Regions from separate parts of the Homo sapiens genome. Here all the other regions are linked to region 1. The links are contacts of gene promoters, found by promoter capture Hi-C in blood cells and fetal thymus (Javierre and others, 2016). All regions are on one chromosome and are shown on one strand. Each heading gives the region's core, a stretch centred on a gene start or on the middle of the fragment in contact. The rest is flanking DNA. Distances are from core to core; before and after follow the strand shown.

Region 1 (2,712 bases), core at 59-2,558:
TTTGGACGCAAAGATATGCTTTTAATGGAATTGACCAAAAAGTCAAAGAACATGGAAATAATTATGCAAAATATAATATAGCCATAACTGGAATATTAACCAGCCACTTAAAATTATGCTTATAAGGAAGCTATACTAACATTTGTGAAACTGAAATGATACAATGGTAAATGAACAAAAAGAAAACTTTATTTTCAGTATTGTCTAACCTATACAAAAATGCATAAAATATTAGACACATATACTAACATGGTAAAAGTAGTTCATTCCAAGTGGTAGCATTATGGATTTTTAAACCTTTCTTGTACTATATTTTCTAAATTTCTAAAGTTCGAATGAAATGTTTTGTAAGTGTAAGGAAATGTGTCCAATGAAGAAGAAACAAAAAATATCTTCATGCAAATCCCACTAAAGTCCATTGGCCAAAACAGCCTGCAAACTAGGACAAAGGATAGCACTTTTCTTCCCCCTAGATGTGATACATGTATATGAAAATAAATAATACAAATAAAGTCAGACCCCAAAGCCCGCAAGGACAAAATACAGCAGAACAGCAAATTTTTTTTTTGAGAGAAAAAACTAGAGAGTTACTGAACTAGTTATTGGCATCGCTGGAAGAAGATGCAAGCAAGCCTTCTGCCATCCAGCCTGGGTCACTTACCAATACCGCACCCTAAAGATTTTTCTATCTTCCCTAATTTTAAATAGACCTTGGTTGTAAAGTTAGAACCATATACATGTACATATTATGTACAGAAATACACTTCTGGTTTCACTAGACAAACATTTACTGAGTGCCTACTTAGTGCTAGTATTAAAACTGCGTGTTAAATCTCTCATCTTCCCTACTAGAAAGAGCCAAGGCCTTTCTTCCTGTTCACTACTGTGTTCCCAGCTCCTGGGAAGATGATAGCATTAGGAGGCCCTGCAAACACATTTCTGTGAGCTGCAGAAAGGAACGAAGCAGGGAAAGAAGCAGAGTCCCAGCACTTGGGCTCACTTTGTCCTACAGTCTGGGAAAGCCTGTCTGCACGAAGCATGAAAAACGTATTAAAACGCAGTGGCCCAGCGGGGGAGCGTGAATGAGAGCTCGCATTGGTAAGCTTCTTGTTAGTTCGTTGGTTCAACTATAGTACCCTTCAGCTAAGCACACGGCCGCCGGCCCTCCCTCCTCTCCTCATCCAGCACTAGCCCCCAGCTGTCTCTTTCCTCCCGGTGCCCACGATCGCACCGCCCAGACCACCCTACTCTCCCTGCCCCGGAAGTTACACACTGCCGACACCGGGACGTAACTTCCGGGAAGGGCTTACTTCCAAGACAGACACGGAAGTGCTGGGAGGCGCCGGGAGCCCGTTCGGTTGCGGGTGTCTCTGGCCCTGCGGTCAGCCCTGGGAACGTCCCGGAGAGCTAGATTCCTAGAGGCCCGATTCCGCTAGCCCGGAACAGACAAAGCCAGCGCTCCCGCCCGCTCCCCGACTTAGGATCCGATGCCGGCAGCGTCCTGGGGCCCCCGTAGCGGGGCTGGACCATGAGCCTGCTGGACGGCCTCGCTTCCTCGCCGCGGGCTCCGCTGCAGTCCAGCAAGGCCAGGATGAAAAAGCTCCCGAAGAAGAGCCAGAATGAGAAGTACCGGCTGAAGTACCTGCGGCTGCGCAAAGCGGCCAAGGCCACGGTGTTTGTGAGTCTGACCCACGTTCAGCCGGTCCCCTCCTGGAGACTCCCTCACAAAATCTTTCCCCAAGCTGTTCCCCCTTCCCAGTGTGACAGTATTAATACAGTGTTGGCTTTTCCGTATACGTTACTACTTGTTAGCCTTGTGTCCTTGGACAAATTACGTAATTTCTCTGTGTCCTCATCTGTAAATGAGCTAGTAACTGTCTTGCAGAATAATGAATATTAAATGAGTAAAGAAAAGTGCTTGGTGCGTAAAAGACATACCAATAAATTTTAGTCATCGTTGTTACTGCAGGACTCTAGGAAATGTGTTTGATTCTCGAGATACAGCCCTGAGAATTAGGCATTATTTGTAAAATGAGAACACTGAAGCCCAGAGAGATGATTTGCCCAAGGGTACTGTGTCAGAGCCCTGACTCCAACTTAGATAAACCTGATTCCGTTTTATGACTTCCAGTACACAGACTATTTTCTGAGCACCTCAAATCCCCATAACTGACCCTTTGCCCAAAGAGGTACATGAAACTGTCAGTAATTTCCCCCCTCTAACCTTTGAGTGTTCCAAGTGTTTCTTCCTTTCTTTTATTGTAGAAGCACTGGATTTATTGAGTGAATAAACTTAATATAGCTTGCCAGCCATAACTTTATATTAGAATAGTTTGGCTTGCCTCAGTGCTTGGAAATAGGGGTGGAGTCCTCAAATGTCCCCCCACATCCAAGTCAACAGTTCATCTCTTCTCTCTACCAAAAGCTTGAACGTCTCTCAGCATTTTTGGAAGCATAAGGAAAGGTTCAGAAATTAGAATACACATTCCAAAAGCACTTATTCAGCACTTGCTATGTGTATTGCTTGCTATTTGCACTGGAGAGAAACAAGAAAAGTAAAACTAAGAGAACTTAGCATCTGATTGACTGTTCCCTTTCTTTTATCCCCTATACGTCAAAGGTACCTAAAGCTTGGAATTTATGTTATTTCAAGGATATTGGTTCCATCAAATACATAATGAAGATTTTGTGAAGAAAAAGCGATGTTGTTTT
Region 2 (2,712 bases), core at 76-2,575, 950 kb after region 1:
GCAGGTGCCTGTAGTCCCAGCTACTCAGGAGGCTGAGGCAGGAGAATGGCGTGAACCCAGGGGGCGGAGCTTGCAGTGAGCCGAGATCGCACCACTGCACTCCAGCCTGGGAGACAAAGACAGACTCAGTCTCAAAAAAAAAAAAAAAAAAAGATTTCCTCCCATGAAGTAAGCCAGAATAAACTCATACCTACTAAATTCTTTCTAAAATCTTTTCTAAATTGACACTCTTGAGAAAGAATAGAGCTTGGAGGAAGAGCTATTATTATAATTAATAGCACAATAATCAGTTTGTCATTAAACCACTTAGGTCTCTTTGTAACAAGATTTCTAAGCTTTAGTAGATGGATTCCTTATTCTATTCTATTTTATATTGTTTTGTTTTGTTTTATTTTATTTTATTTTTCGAGACAGTCTAGCTGTGTCACCCAGGCTGAAGTGCAGTAGTGCGATCTCGGCTCACCGCAACCTCTGCCTCCTGAATTGAAGTGATTCTCATTCCTTAGCCGACCAAGTAGCTGGGACCACAGGTGTGTGCCACCATGCCCAGCTAATTTTTTGTATTTTTAGTAGAGACGGGATTTCACCATCTTGGCCAGGGTGGCCTCAAGTGATCTGCCCGCCTCAGCTTCCCAAAGTGCTGAGGTTACACGCATGAGCCACCGTGCCCAGCCACTTATTTTATTTCATTTTTTAAATTTATTATTATTATTATTATTTTGAGACTGAGTCTTGCTCAGTCGCCCAGGCAGGAGTGCAGTGGTGTGATCTCGGCTCACTGCAACCTTCATCCCCTGAGTTCAAGTAATTCTCCTGCCTCAGCCTCCTGAGTAGCTGGGACCACAGGCAGGTACCACCACACCTGGCTAATTTTTGTTATTTTAGTAGAGATGGGGTTTCGCTATGTTGGCCAGGCTGGTCTTGAACTCCTGACCTCGTGATCTGCCTGCCTTGGCCTCCCAAAATGCTGGGATTAAAGGCATCCTGTTACTAATTTCACAGGATTTTAGAAACGCAAGCAGCGTTGTGGAGTCAATGGGGGAGGGCAAAGAACAGGAGGAGAGATCTGTGAGAACGGGATCGGCGAGGAGGCGACGGGGAGGAGGCGACGCGGAGGGGTGAGGGGTCCTCTCCGCCGCCAGGCGGAGTTGGGAGCCGGACGATCCCGCACGCAGCGCGAGGCGGGACCCCGGACTGACTACATTTCCCAGTCTCCGTCGCTCCGCGCGGCCCACCCCTTCGGCTCTGGGCCCCGCCTCGTGGTGCCGGCTGGTTCTTCGCGCTCGCCCGACTTCCCAGCGGCCCCGTGCGGCCCGGGCATGCCCAGTGCGGGCGCAGCGGCCCCGGCCCTGGAAGCGCCCCGGCGGAGCTGGCCTGCGGTGGGCTAGGGGCAGGGCCGGAGCCGCGGCGGCGGAGCTGTGGGTAGGTGCGGGCTCAGCCGAGCTAGGCCTCGGGGCCGCCGCGCCGCCCATTCTGAGTGGCAGGGACCGGGAGGGCAGGCAGGGCCCGAGCGTGGGTTGGTGGGGCTACCGGCGAGGACCCCTTATGGGAAGGGGCCGGAGGGAGCGGGACGGGGCCGGGCACATCCCCGGGCGAGGCTGCCCCAGGTGCGGCGCAGCTATCTTTAGCTCCCTGTGTGACCCGGAGCGTGCGTGATCCGCACCTCGCGTGATCCGTACCTCGTGCACAGTTGTGCCTAGGGAGACCAGTTTTCTGCCGAATTGCCTAGGAGCTGTGGGGAGATGGGCCTGAATGGACCCGTGGACTCAGAGGCAGCCCGTGGAGCCCCGTGGGAAGTGAGGATGTTTACCTTCCCTGTACCTGGAGTGGGCTACGACAGCTTCCTGTTTGCCGAGACTTGGGTTTAGTGACTTAGAAATAAAAGTGTGTCTCAGCAGATGCTTATTAGCTTCTAATGACTGTTGGGAATTTAATGGCATTTGTATTTCCAGGTTTGAGAGGTTATTTGTCCATGGGATGCTCGTGTTAAAACAAAAATCTTCATTGCAAAGCTTAAGTAAAAACAAGTCTCGACCGAGGTAACGTTAGAACACCGGGTTCTGAGGTTCACTGTAGCTGCCATTCATTTGCTGTCAGTCTGGGCAAGTCATTTAACTTCTGAGACTGGGTTCTCTCACCTGTTAAATGAGCCAGATGCATCTTCATCTGTCTAGCTCAGCTGTAGGATTCCCCCTGTGTCATTCAGTCTGTGTGTGTGTTCTCAAATTGTGGCAGGTTATTTTTCCCCATGCCTCAGCTATTTGTCAGACTGGGTAATTCACCAAATATTCCTGTAGGAAGGATGTTAGGATCTAAGTATAAAAGTGAAGTGATTTATCCTTCATAGGTCACTCTTAGGAGGTGTCCTGCCACTTGGTACATGCAGAAACCAGGTGTTAGCTGGCCAGGGATCAAATGACACAGCTGTTGTGGACTGAGACAGAATGTTTCAGGTTCCCTGTCAGTTCCCTGTGAGAAATCCAGGCCAAGTAATGGGCTTCCTTAAACCTCCAAGCTGGCTCACTTTGGTGGGGTTGTGTTTATATAGAATTTTAAGTTTTTTTCATGCTGTTGTGCCCTATTAGATGCAAGAAACCTATGAAGAAGTTTAGTACCCTTAATTTATAGATGAGCCAGTGGCAGGTTACGGGAGTGGATCTGTGAGTCTTTACAAACTAGTGTCGTGCATATCACTGAGCCTTTGCTAGTTAT
Region 3 (2,712 bases), core at 88-2,587, 890 kb before region 1:
CTTTGGGGTGGTCTCACACCATCTAGAGCTCACACTGTCATTAGCCCCCCGCCTCAGCCTGGACACAGCGAGGATTTTCTTCCAAGGGCCCTGGATAGAGAAGTAAAGACAAACAAGAGTATAAGCATGAAACTATACACAAGGACAACAGCCTGAGTTCAATCATAATCCTCTACACAAACTTCTTCAAATGGTTAAATCCTCTTTTCCCCAACCACCATAGCCATAAATCAACAGATCCAGTTGGGAGAGGATAATTTACAACTAAAGGTATGGTCCTCTACTCCCTTTCCTAGGCAAGGTTCATACTCTGCAAGAAAATACTGCATTTCCACTTCACAAATACTGCCAATTCCCCCGCTTAAGTCTCCAAACCGGTTCCCTTCTCTTCCTTCCTACAGACTGCTTTAGTTTGAGCCTTCATCATCTCCTGCCTGGACTACTGCTCTAACTTCCTAAGATCCCTGCAGTACTCAACTATAAGCAAAGTACAACAGAATTACCTGTGGAGATTTTGCAAAACATAGTATCACACATCATTTTTCAGACACTCTGATTCAGTCAATTCAGGTAACTGTATGTTTAGAGATGCTACTTGCAGTTCGAATGTGTATCCATGGTTGAGAAACACCAACCATGAGGGAGATGTGTAAGGTTATGAGCGAAAGTTCTGGAGTCAAGCTGCCTGGGTTTGAATCCTGGCTCTGTCGCTTACTAGGTATTTCCAGAGTGGGACCATAGGCAAGTTCTCATTCTCCTAATGCCAGTTTCTCTGTCTATAGAAGGGAGATAATAATGGTTTTTATCTAATAGGCTTACTGTAAGGATTAAATGTATTACTAAAGCCTATGAGCATTAAATGTATTACTATCTTTGCTTAGAAGAGTGATGGCACCAGCTATTATCTTTCTAAATTATAGTTCCAACTATATTACTCAGTATTTTAAAACAAAACCTTTTTCATGTTAGTAAAATCAGTTCCAAAATCCTGGGAATGACACGAAGCTCTTTACAATCAGCCCCCAATCTATTTTTCAAGCTTCAGATCCTACCTTTTCCCTGTATCACCTGGTTATAAAAAATGCATTGCTGATCTCCCTACAACAGGGTGTCTTTTCAGTCTTCCATGTCTTTTTGAAGGTTGTTCCTTCTGCACAGGCTACTCTCCACCCTTCTCCTTTCCACGCTACATGGTGTGTTCTCTTTCTTTTTAACGGGTCTTGTCTTTATTCCCACAATTTACAGCTTAGGTCCCTCTCACTTCTCATCTGGATGACTGCAACTGCCTCCAAATGTGAGCTATCTGCCTCCAGATTTGTCACCTTCACGTACCCACTATGATCAGAACGAGCTCTCTTGGCAAACGTGCTCATGTCCCTTTCCTATCTAAGATCCTTCCATCACTCCCCGCTGTCTTGTTAAGTGAAATACAAACTTCAAACATTCTACATTAGGTTGACGTTCATCTTGTTATTCTCTTCGCCCTCCTCTCCAATCCTTTCAGACACACACGCACACACGTGTGTACATGCAAAGCACACAAGAGTCCCGTGTTCTTTAGCTTTTGAATATGCTGTTTCTTCTGATTCTTTATCCTTGGTTAGGTTAAACTTTAAATTTTTCAAGACATAAGCTCAAGCTTCATGTCTTCTGAGATGTTTTCTTTGATCCCATTTCCCCTACTCTCAGACATAGTTAGAAATCACCTAAGTCCTCCCGTAGTGACCTGGGCACCTCTCTATCCCAGTATTGGTCATATTACATAGCCATCGCTCATCTTTCCTGTGAAACTCTTTGAGGTCAGAGACTATTTTCCATCAATCTCCAATACCTATAATAAAGTGCACAATAAATGCATTTAAAATGAATAAAACTCTACTCCAAAGCTTCTTCCTATGGTAACAGGAAGAACCATTGTTTCCTCCATTATGCTTTTACTATCTCTTGATTATTCACCATATCCTGTTAATTCCAACTTCCAAAAAATGTCTTTCGAATCCATCCATCTCTTCATCTCTACTGCCATTTCCCGGTTGAGCCATTATGACCCACTAGAAGGTATTCATAGGAACTTTAAAAAAAATTACAATATCCTCTGCTCCTAAACGGCACTGGCACGTAACAGGCACGGATACATTGGAGAGATGACTTAGTTCAACCTCCATGACTGGTTTTCTTGGTCCTGTCCCCCTCCAGACCAGTGTCCACAAGCAGCTTAAGGGCTCCATCATTTCTCAACCTTTTTGTGCTATACTACAGTTGCCTCACATCCACATTCAAGGTTATCGATCCACTCTTAATAGCTGTGTCTCATCTATTGTTGCCCATCAAATGAGTTTACAGTCAATGATCACATTATCTTCATTCTTTCTCAAAACGCTTCTAATTCATGCTCTTATGACATTTTTTTCATTACCCTCAGTCACTTGCAACATACTTTCACAGTCTATCTTGGATAGCTCCCTAATTCCTAGATCTTCATGTGTAATTTTTCCTCTGCTATCTCTACCTCATGGTGATTTATTTTTTTCTCAAGTGGCTTGTAATTTTTTTATTTTATGTCCATCTTTTTACTTTGGGAGTCCTGAGAGCCCTGGATTTAAATGTGAGCCCCTTGAATGTAATTTCATTTGTTTCTTCCTAAGTGCTAATGGTTTCAATGATCTTGGACAGTTTGCTTTTTTAAGACTCTCCCTCTGTTGCCCAGGCTGG
Region 4 (2,712 bases), core at 64-2,563, 570 kb before region 1:
GATGATCCACAGCACCTAAAAGCAAAGGAAACAGGGCTGGGTGGACGTAGGGCCTGGTTTTCAGCCCAGGACAGCCACATTTCCCTTCAGTCTGTGAGTGCCTTTTCTCTGGAGTGCTCCCCTCTCATCTTCTGATGAGTTCTACGCACTAGAGGAAGGTGGGAAGAACGTGGGAATTGGCTCTGTTTGACTTTGGGCTAAATCTGACTTAGTTGACTCCATGGTATTTTATTGAGCTATTACCTGATTAATGAAGCTTAACCTTAGAAATTTTAGGAAATGAATAAGATGTAAAGTGATAATGGGGAATTATAAAGCTAATTCTAGGAAAAATGATGATTATTTGCAGTCAAGTCACAGATATAATTGCTATTGGACACTAAACTCTATTAAAAGAAATGGCTGTTTTTAATATCAGTAATTATCTATTGCTTTTTCCTACCTACATATCATCTTTTCTATTCTTTTATTTCTTTATTTTTATTTAAGTTATTTTTGGGACAGGGTCTCACTCTGTCACCCAGGCTGGAGTGCAGTGGCATGATTTTGGCTCACTGCAATCTCTGCCTTTTCAGCTTAAAGGATCTCCCCACCTCAGCCTCCCAAGTAGCTGGGACTACAGACATACACCACCACACTCAGCTAGTTTTTTCTTTTTCTTTTCCTTTTTTTTTAAATTTTTGAAGAGACAAGGCGTCACTGTATTGCCTAGGCTAGTCTCAAATCCCTGGGCTCAAGTGATCCTGCCACCTTGGCCTCCCAAGCTGCTGGGATTACAGGTGTGAGCCGCCATGCCCAGGCTTCCTTTCTGTTTTACACCCATTAGACAATTCTCAGTTTTCAGTTACTCTAGCTGCTGATTGAGAAAGCTGCCTCCCGGATCAGTCACATGAATGGGTAATCTCAGAACTGCTACAAGTCAACTTAGAGAAATGCTGTGGAATAAGGCACACATTAAATAATTTGATGAATAAATTTTTTAACAAAGATGGGTAGGAGCCAAAATTATATGGGTACTTTGCAGACATCAATGCATTAATGTACACAGGAACCATAATATATTATTTTACTATTTATATATATTCAGAAAAGATTTAAAGAGTTTTTTTCAAGGTCATCTGATGTCAGAGTGGGCAGCGTGTTTAGTATGTAAACTCAGATACTTCCAGTTGTAAAGTTTATTCTACACCTTCTCTTCTATATCAACTCTAGTGTTGTCTCTTCATTTTACTTATGAGGAAACAGATGAAAAATAGATTAATAACTTACCCAAATGTCACTCAATAATTAATGACAGGATTGAACTGAGTCTTATTTAGAAGTTCTCCACTCTATATACTTATTATCAGTTTGCGATAGGCTCTATAAAGAGTTTTTTGCAGGAAAAACTCATCTCAGTGAGGCCATTGTTTGATGTTCCAGGACTAATTTGACATGAAGATAAAGAATCACACTCCAGTAACTGAGGTCCCCCTGATGGGAATCCCTCATACAAAGGGGATGGAAAATGTGCTTTTTGTCTTATTTCTGGCCTTCTACCTCTTCACCTTGCTGGGGAACCTACTCATTCTTCTGGCCGTCCTCACTTTCTCCAACCTCCACACCCCCATGTATTTCTTCCTGGGAAACCTGTCTGTGTTTGACATATTTTTCCCTTCAGTGAGTTCCCCCAAAATGATGCTCTGCTTAGTGGGACAAAGCTGCACCATCTCTTTCCAGGGTTGTGCCTCCCAGCTCTTCTTTCACCATTTCCTGGGTTGCACCGAGTGTTTCCTGTACACTGTGATGGCCTATGACCGATTTGCAGCCATCTGCCACCCTTTGCCATACACGGTCATCATGAAACGCAGGGTGTGTGCCCTCCTGACGCTAGGCACCTGGACGGGGAGCTGTCTGCATGCATCTGTCCTCACACTCCTCATCTTTAAGTTATCCTACTGTGGCCCCAATGAAGTGGACAATTTTTTTCTGTGATATTCCGGTGGTGCTGCCCCTGGCCTGCGCAGACACCTCTCTAGCACGGACAGTGAGTTTCATCAACGTAGGTGTTGTTGCGCTCATGTGTTTTCTTCTTATCCTCACCTCTTATGCTTGCATTGTTATCTCTATACTGAAAATCAGTTCCTCAGAAGGTAGGCGCAGAGCCTTCTCAACCTGCAGTGCCCATCTGACGTCCATCCTGCTCTTCTATGGACCAATAGTCCTCATTTATCTCCGACCTGCCTCCAGCCCTTGGCTGGACTCTGTGGTTCAGGTGTTGAATAATATTGTTATCCCTTCCCTGAATCCTTTGATATATACTTTGAGAAACAAAGGTGTAAAGCTGGCACTGAGAAAGGTGCTCATTCAAGGAGTACATAATTGTGGAAGGTAAGCTTTATATCCTGGTCTGTCTTTACAGCTTTGTCTTGAATTTATCTGGGGGCAATTAGCTCCTATATTTTGTTTGATGACTGAGTACCAGGCGCTATTTACAAATACTGATACATGTAATGATTATAATAATCATATGAAGTAGATAATACTATTATCTCGATTTACGAGGGAAAATTAAGGCACTGAGAGGCTGAGATCTTTCTGCAGTGTCATGGAGTTAAAAACTTGCTGGGCGAAAATGTGACCCAAAGCGTCTTAACCATGTGCTAATGCTGCTTCTGTAGTGTCTAAATGGTAACATAAATACTTCTCTCAGGAGCTTCTTTTCGGTTTACA
Region 5 (2,712 bases), core at 143-2,642, 550 kb before region 1:
GCTGAAGCTCCAGTGGGCGTGTGTTACAGTGCGCTCTTTCAGTTTAGCCGTCCGTTGGCAGCTTGTGTTAATCAGCTTAATTAGACCCTCTGCCTTATAGCAAGGGTGGAGGACTCTCTGTATCCCGGGGTTCTTGCCTTGGTGTACTAGAAGAATCAGATCACATATGGGCTTGGAGAATGAGTGCCAAATTTTATTGAATGGTGGAAATAGCTCTCAGCAGACGGATGGGGAGCCAGAAGGGGAGCGGGAAGGTGGTTTTCCCATGGAGTCAGCTCAGCGGCGTGACTCTCCTCTGACAGCTCCAGCTAAACTCCGCTTCATTCCACTGGTCAATGGCCTGCCGGCGTCTGCTGGTGCCGTTCGGTGTGCTCTTCAACCGAAGTGTTCCTCTTGATGTCTAGCCGCTTCTGTGTTCTCCTGCTGATGTGTTTCTCACGATGTCCAGCTGCTGTGTCCGTGCGCACTAGGGTCTCAGGGTTTTTATAGGCACAGGATGGGGACATGGTGGGCCAGGGTGGTCTTGGGAAATGCAACATTTGGACCTGAAAGCAGGAGTGCCTGTTCTCCCCTAGTTCCATGGGCACAGGTCCAGGGGTGGAGCCCTCCCCAGGGACCCGCCGTTCTCCTCCCAGCCCTTCCTTGCCCCCTCCCATATCAGTACTGTGCAGAAAAATTGAATTATGAAATTATAGTGAAAAGGTCATTACATGTTAGCCAGTTCACATTTTCTCCCAGTGGAGAACCCACTCTGCTTGGTCCCTCATGTCTATTTAGCTACCTTCCGTAGAGCAGAAATCTTACACCGCCAGCATAGTTTGTGTCACAGCTATCATATTCACACACCCTACTTCATGTTATGGAATAAAATGGAGCCCTAACCAAATTTGTTTAATTATACAAAAATAAAGTTTAGTTACTTTTTTGAGGTTCTTGCTCTGTCTCTCGGGCTAGAATGCAGAGATACAATCCTAGTTCACTGCAGCCTCAACCTTCTGGGCTCAATCGATCCTCTCACCTCAGCCTTCAAGTAGCTGAAACTACAGGCATGTGACACCATGCCCAGCTAAGTTTTATATTTTCTGTAGAGACAAGGTTTTACCATGTTGCCCAGGCTGGTCTCAAACTCCTGGGCTTGAGTGATCCTCCTGCCTTGGCCTCCCAACGTGCTTGGATCACAGGTGTGAGCCACCACACCTGGCCTAGTTCCATTTTTAAAACTGTTTACTTGCTGACATATCTATTTGCTGAAGGTTTTAGAATGCTCTTGTCAGAATAAAGTTTAAAAAAAGGCTGTAATTATTTTTAATAATTTTATTTTTGTAGGTTTTCACATTTTGAATGTTAATTCTTGTTTCAAGAGGATTTCTGATTATAAGTAGAATATCCTTTTGTGACTATGAGAGTGTGTGTGTGTGTGTGTGTGCGTGTGTGTGTGTGACTGTTCTCATGGTGGAGGCGTAGGAAAGTAATAGTAATAGTAGTGTTCTTTCATAGTGGCCTCAGATGAGGAAGTGGGAAAGACTATAAATATCTTTCCTGCTTATAGCATGTTAAAAAGCACTTATGTGTGAATCAGCAAAATACCGGGGTTCTAACAGTGGTTCCACTAATAATAGCCTGTGTGGTCCTGAATAAATTATTTTGTCTCTATGGCTTTAGTTCTAATATTTGTAAAATGAAGAGGTTGAACTAGATCATTTTAGAGGATTCTTTCACATCTACAAATTGTGTACCATTACAGGAATTTTCATTTACAGGAAGATGTTCATGACTTTGGGGAAAAAAAGTGTCTAGAGGTCTTCTAATTTCTGATTTTGGTAGGGCAATGATATTTCCATTTCCAGTAGTACTCTTGATTTTGAAATCCCGCTCTTGAAACAGGACTCCGAATTAAGGTGAAATACCTAACATCGGCCGGCAGATGGCACTATTGGGGCACCGACAACCAGATTCCTCTTCACTAACAAGTAGCTTGCAATAAAGACCCTGGAGCTGAATCAATAGGATAAAGAATGGTTGAAATTATTATTAGAACTGTGTTAGAGAGGTCTGTGATGCTTATGATTTCTGATGGCACCACCATGTGCTATAGTCTTTCTAGAGAGCCAGTTAAATAACCAGTCAATTGCTACCATTTTTACCAATTGGTGTCAGTAGACCCACGACTCTTTGTGTGTAAACAGCCATTGGGTTCACAAGGTGTTTCAGGTAAGAATGGAGAAAGTCTTGATGGAAATACAGCTGGCAAAGGTCACAGGACCCTGCCTGTGTTTACAGACTGCACAAGAACCACTTGGTGCTAAAAGCACGTGGCCGACAGATCGGCTTCAGCACGTACCTTCATCATTCCTCTTCTGAGCTAGCAGAGAAGGGAATTTGACTTCTTTTTTTTTCCTTCCATAGAGCGGGGCTTGAATTCCTTTGGCAGGGAGTCCCCAAAGTTAATTTTAACCCAGGAAATTGTGCATTAATAACGTGATACGAGTTTTGCTTTCAACAAAAGAAAACAGAATAAAAGGAATTTCCCAGCTACAGGATATTCTGACTATTCTGTGACATACAGTTTGATAAAACTTACACTAAATCTGACGGAAAGGTTTGTTTGTGATGGAGAAGGAAAGAGAGAAGTGCTTGTCCTTTTGTCTTATGTAGTCCCGCAGGAATACACTGACTTATTTCTACCTTTTCCACATCTTTTCCTTTTTCTTT
Region 6 (2,712 bases), core at 79-2,578, 530 kb before region 1:
TGCACTTGACTTAGGCCTTTTGACTAGTATAGAGTGCAAGGCAATTATGTTTTGTAGAAACTGAAATTTTTAAACACCTTTGGATGATGTAAAGGTATAGATTGAAATAAAGTCCTGATTGAGATGGACGTTGGAATTCTTGATGTGATTTCCCAAGAACTCTGGGAAACGGATTCATTTTCTAATTCTGCAGCACCTAATTCAGAAATGTTTTCATAGCAAATGCTGTAGACTGCAGAGACCGAAAGCAGTGGTTTAGGACTTCGTCACGGTGTGAGTTTACTGTGCACTCTATAATCATATTGTGTACTTGTATAATGCTGAGATTGATGAGGTATAACTGCTCCTGGCTGAGGTATTTGGCAACACATACATACAGGAATGGTCAAGCCTTATATTCTAATATACAGTCTGAGGGGAGTGAATGATGTTTCCAGAGACTCTAATGTAAACTTATTCATTCCTATATTCTCATGAACAGCCCTGTGTTCAATGGTGAGATTTGGGTCCAGGGAACTTGCATCTCCTGTCTTGAAAAATGTTGGTGATCTCTCTATAATATATTCTGATCGTGTCTCTTCTTAAAACAAATAAATCCTGTTATTTGCTTGACTGCCGTTATTGCCTAGTATTTAATATTTAATATTTACAACTGGCAGGTACCAAGCAAGTGAAAGAGGACTTGTTTTTATCTGTTGGCTGATTTACAAAGGTTCCTAACCCCCCTCCCTCCCAGGCTTCCCATATGCCATTTCTTCCTCTGTCTATGCTTCCATTTTTCCAATGATGTAAGAGATTCTACTGTTATGAGACAGCCATATGGAATCACAGAATTAGTATTTCAGAGTTGGAAGGTAACTTAAAAGTCATCTAGTTTAGTGGAAGGATCTCCCTTTAATATTTTTTACATCTCCTTTCTTAAAAAGGGATATTCCTCCTCCGATGAGAGATAATATCCTAGTATAATCATCTTATCCCATGATTCCAGCTGACAGAGCAGAAAGATTGATATCACAATTAGTTACAGTGTCATTTGATATAAATAGAGGGAGAGATAAAGATCTTCTTTATAGTAGAAAACCAATGACCTAATGTGGTAAGAATAATTAATTTGGAAAGTTATTATTTGGCAATTATAATAATAATTCAGACAAGAATAATCTATGGATGCTAAAACTGGCAGATAAAATTGAGAAGTAATAGGATATGTACATAATTGCAAAGTTTCCATCCCTCCAAAAAATCATTATTAATTAGGAAGGTAAAATAATCACTTTATGGTTGAGTAGTCTGACAGACACTACCTTAACCAAATGATAAAAATTAACCTCACTAGTAATGGAACAAATTCACAGCAAGTACCTCCTGATATAATATACTAGAAAGAACACAGCATCATTTTGGAGTTGGTTCTGTCAAAAACACATTACCTGAATCTAATCAGGAGAAAACATTAGACAAACTCAAACTGATGTATGTTGTACAAAGTACCCATCTTAAAATATTCAAAAACAATAATGTCCTGGAATACAAAGGACTCAGGAACTATTCCAGTTTTTTAAAAAAAGATAAATAACATTATGCAATATATAATCCTGGACATTTTGTGCTATAAAAACATTATTAGAATAATTGGGAAAAGCTAAAGAATACCTGTAGATTAGATGATAGTATTGTATCCATATTCATTTCCTGGTTTTGATAACTATATTATAGTTATATAAGGGGACACCCTTTGTTTTAGGAAATAAACTTTAAGTAAGATATGGGGAAAAGGACCACATGATTGCAACTCGTTCAGAATAAAGTGTACACACACACACACACACACACACACAATATTGGGGGAAGGATTAGAGAGAGAATGAGAGAGAGAAGGGATAAAACAAATACAATATGCTGATAACATTGGGAATGTGAGTAACAAATATACATGGACTTTATGTTACCTTTTCAACTTTTCTGTAAGTCTGAAATTGTTTAAATCTTTAAAAGTCAATTTGATGAAACTTCTAGGAATGCTTTAACAGAACAGAAAAACTAGAAATTATTTCTTTTGTGTTAAATTTTTTATTTTTAAAATCTGTCAATGTTTTATATTAGAATAAATAAATATTCTGATTCAACAGATACATTCTTACAATAAAATATTTATTTTTATTTAGTATATTTATTGCTGTTACGACTTGTGCAAAGATTAATTAAACTTATGTTGCATCAAGGTTATCCATACATTTCTCACTTGGCATTATAAGTTTGTGAAGTAAAATGAGAACTGAACTGAAAATCGGAAGACCTGGATTCTACTTTTGGTTCTTCCATTAACTAAAGAAATTTCTGAATCCAGGTGCTTAGCCTGTAAACCTGAGCCGTGGATGAAAAGTGAAGCAACTGGGAGAGAAGAGCTGGAATGACATTTTAATACACATTAGAGGAAACTGTCAGGGAAAAATTCAAAGAGATTTTCTAAACCATTGTAACTTTACAAGTGATTATTATTTTTCAGTATTGCCATCTGTTTCTTTGTAGTGACAAGTGGCAACATGCTTAAAACAGAAGTGTGTATGTGTGTATGTGTGCATGTTAAAAGACAGAAGAGTGGAGGTTGTGAAACATATGGCTGTTTCAGCACTTGCCTGCCAAAAAGAGAAGGCCAGGAAAGAAAACATGGATATTGAAGACAGGAGTGACTGTTATGTGTCTTGGTTAACA

Evidence for each region. The method cuts DNA at HindIII sites, captures the fragments that hold promoters and counts their contacts. A CHiCAGO score of 5 or more calls a contact.
Region 2: a contact is called between the fragment with the promoter of EI24 here and the fragment with the promoter of TBRG1 in region 1, in 8 of 17 cell types (naive CD4 T cells, total CD8 T cells, activated CD4 T cells and 5 more). The highest score is 9.4, in naive CD4 T cells.
Region 3: a fragment that was not itself captured here is called in contact with the fragment with the promoter of TBRG1 in region 1 in 1 of 17 cell types (total B cells); the score reaches 5.8 in total B cells.
Region 4: a contact is called between a fragment that was not itself captured here and the fragment with the promoter of TBRG1 in region 1, in 3 of 17 cell types (naive B cells, megakaryocytes and total B cells). The highest score is 6.5, in naive B cells.
Region 5: a contact is called between a fragment that was not itself captured here and the fragment with the promoter of TBRG1 in region 1, in 5 of 17 cell types (erythroblasts, megakaryocytes, total B cells and 2 more). The highest score is 14.6, in erythroblasts.
Region 6: a contact is called between a fragment that was not itself captured here and the fragment with the promoter of TBRG1 in region 1, in 2 of 17 cell types (total B cells and erythroblasts). The highest score is 6.2, in total B cells.

What each region holds. Positions count from the first base shown.
Region 1 is chr11:124,621,556-124,624,267 of GRCh38, forward strand. TBRG1 (transforming growth factor beta regulator 1) reads left to right here and starts at 1,309. Exons shown (of 9, transcript NM_032811.3): 1 at 1,309-1,678. The coding sequence starts at 1,529. LOC124902779 (a long non-coding RNA gene) reads right to left here and starts at 1,646. Exons shown (of 2, transcript XR_007062932.1): 1 at 1-1,646. RefSeq lists an enhancer at 1,386-1,455. The HindIII fragment of the contact is 1,322 bases long and covers 1,102-2,423 here.
Region 2 is chr11:125,568,152-125,570,863 of GRCh38, forward strand. It overlaps EI24 (EI24 autophagy associated transmembrane protein), which reads left to right and starts at 1,326. Exons shown (of 11, transcript NM_004879.5): 1 at 1,326-1,422. STT3A-AS1 (STT3A antisense RNA 1) reads right to left here. Exons shown (of 4, transcript NR_132372.1): 3 at 2,139-2,291. RefSeq lists enhancers at 990-1,491, 1,994-2,043 and a silencer at 994-1,553. The HindIII fragment of the contact is 1,677 bases long and covers 334-2,010 here.
Region 3 is chr11:123,730,896-123,733,607 of GRCh38, forward strand. ZNF202 (zinc finger protein 202) reads right to left here. Exons shown (of 9, transcript NM_003455.4): 4 at 1-90. Among named protein-coding and RNA genes, the nearest start is that of ZNF202, 9.4 kb to the right of the region's middle. The HindIII fragment of the contact is 600 bases long and covers 1,038-1,637 here.
Region 4 is chr11:124,053,359-124,056,070 of GRCh38, forward strand. It overlaps the pseudogene OR10D5P. Among named protein-coding and RNA genes, the nearest start is that of OR10G7, 13 kb to the left of the region's middle. The HindIII fragment of the contact is 2,119 bases long and covers 255-2,373 here.
Region 5 is chr11:124,069,612-124,072,323 of GRCh38, forward strand. No RefSeq gene overlaps it. Among named protein-coding and RNA genes, the nearest start is that of OR10G7, 30 kb to the left of the region's middle. The HindIII fragment of the contact is 5,328 bases long and covers 1-2,712 here.
Region 6 is chr11:124,088,592-124,091,303 of GRCh38, forward strand. No RefSeq gene overlaps it. Among named protein-coding and RNA genes, the nearest start is that of VWA5A, 26 kb to the right of the region's middle. The HindIII fragment of the contact is 7,316 bases long and covers 1-2,712 here.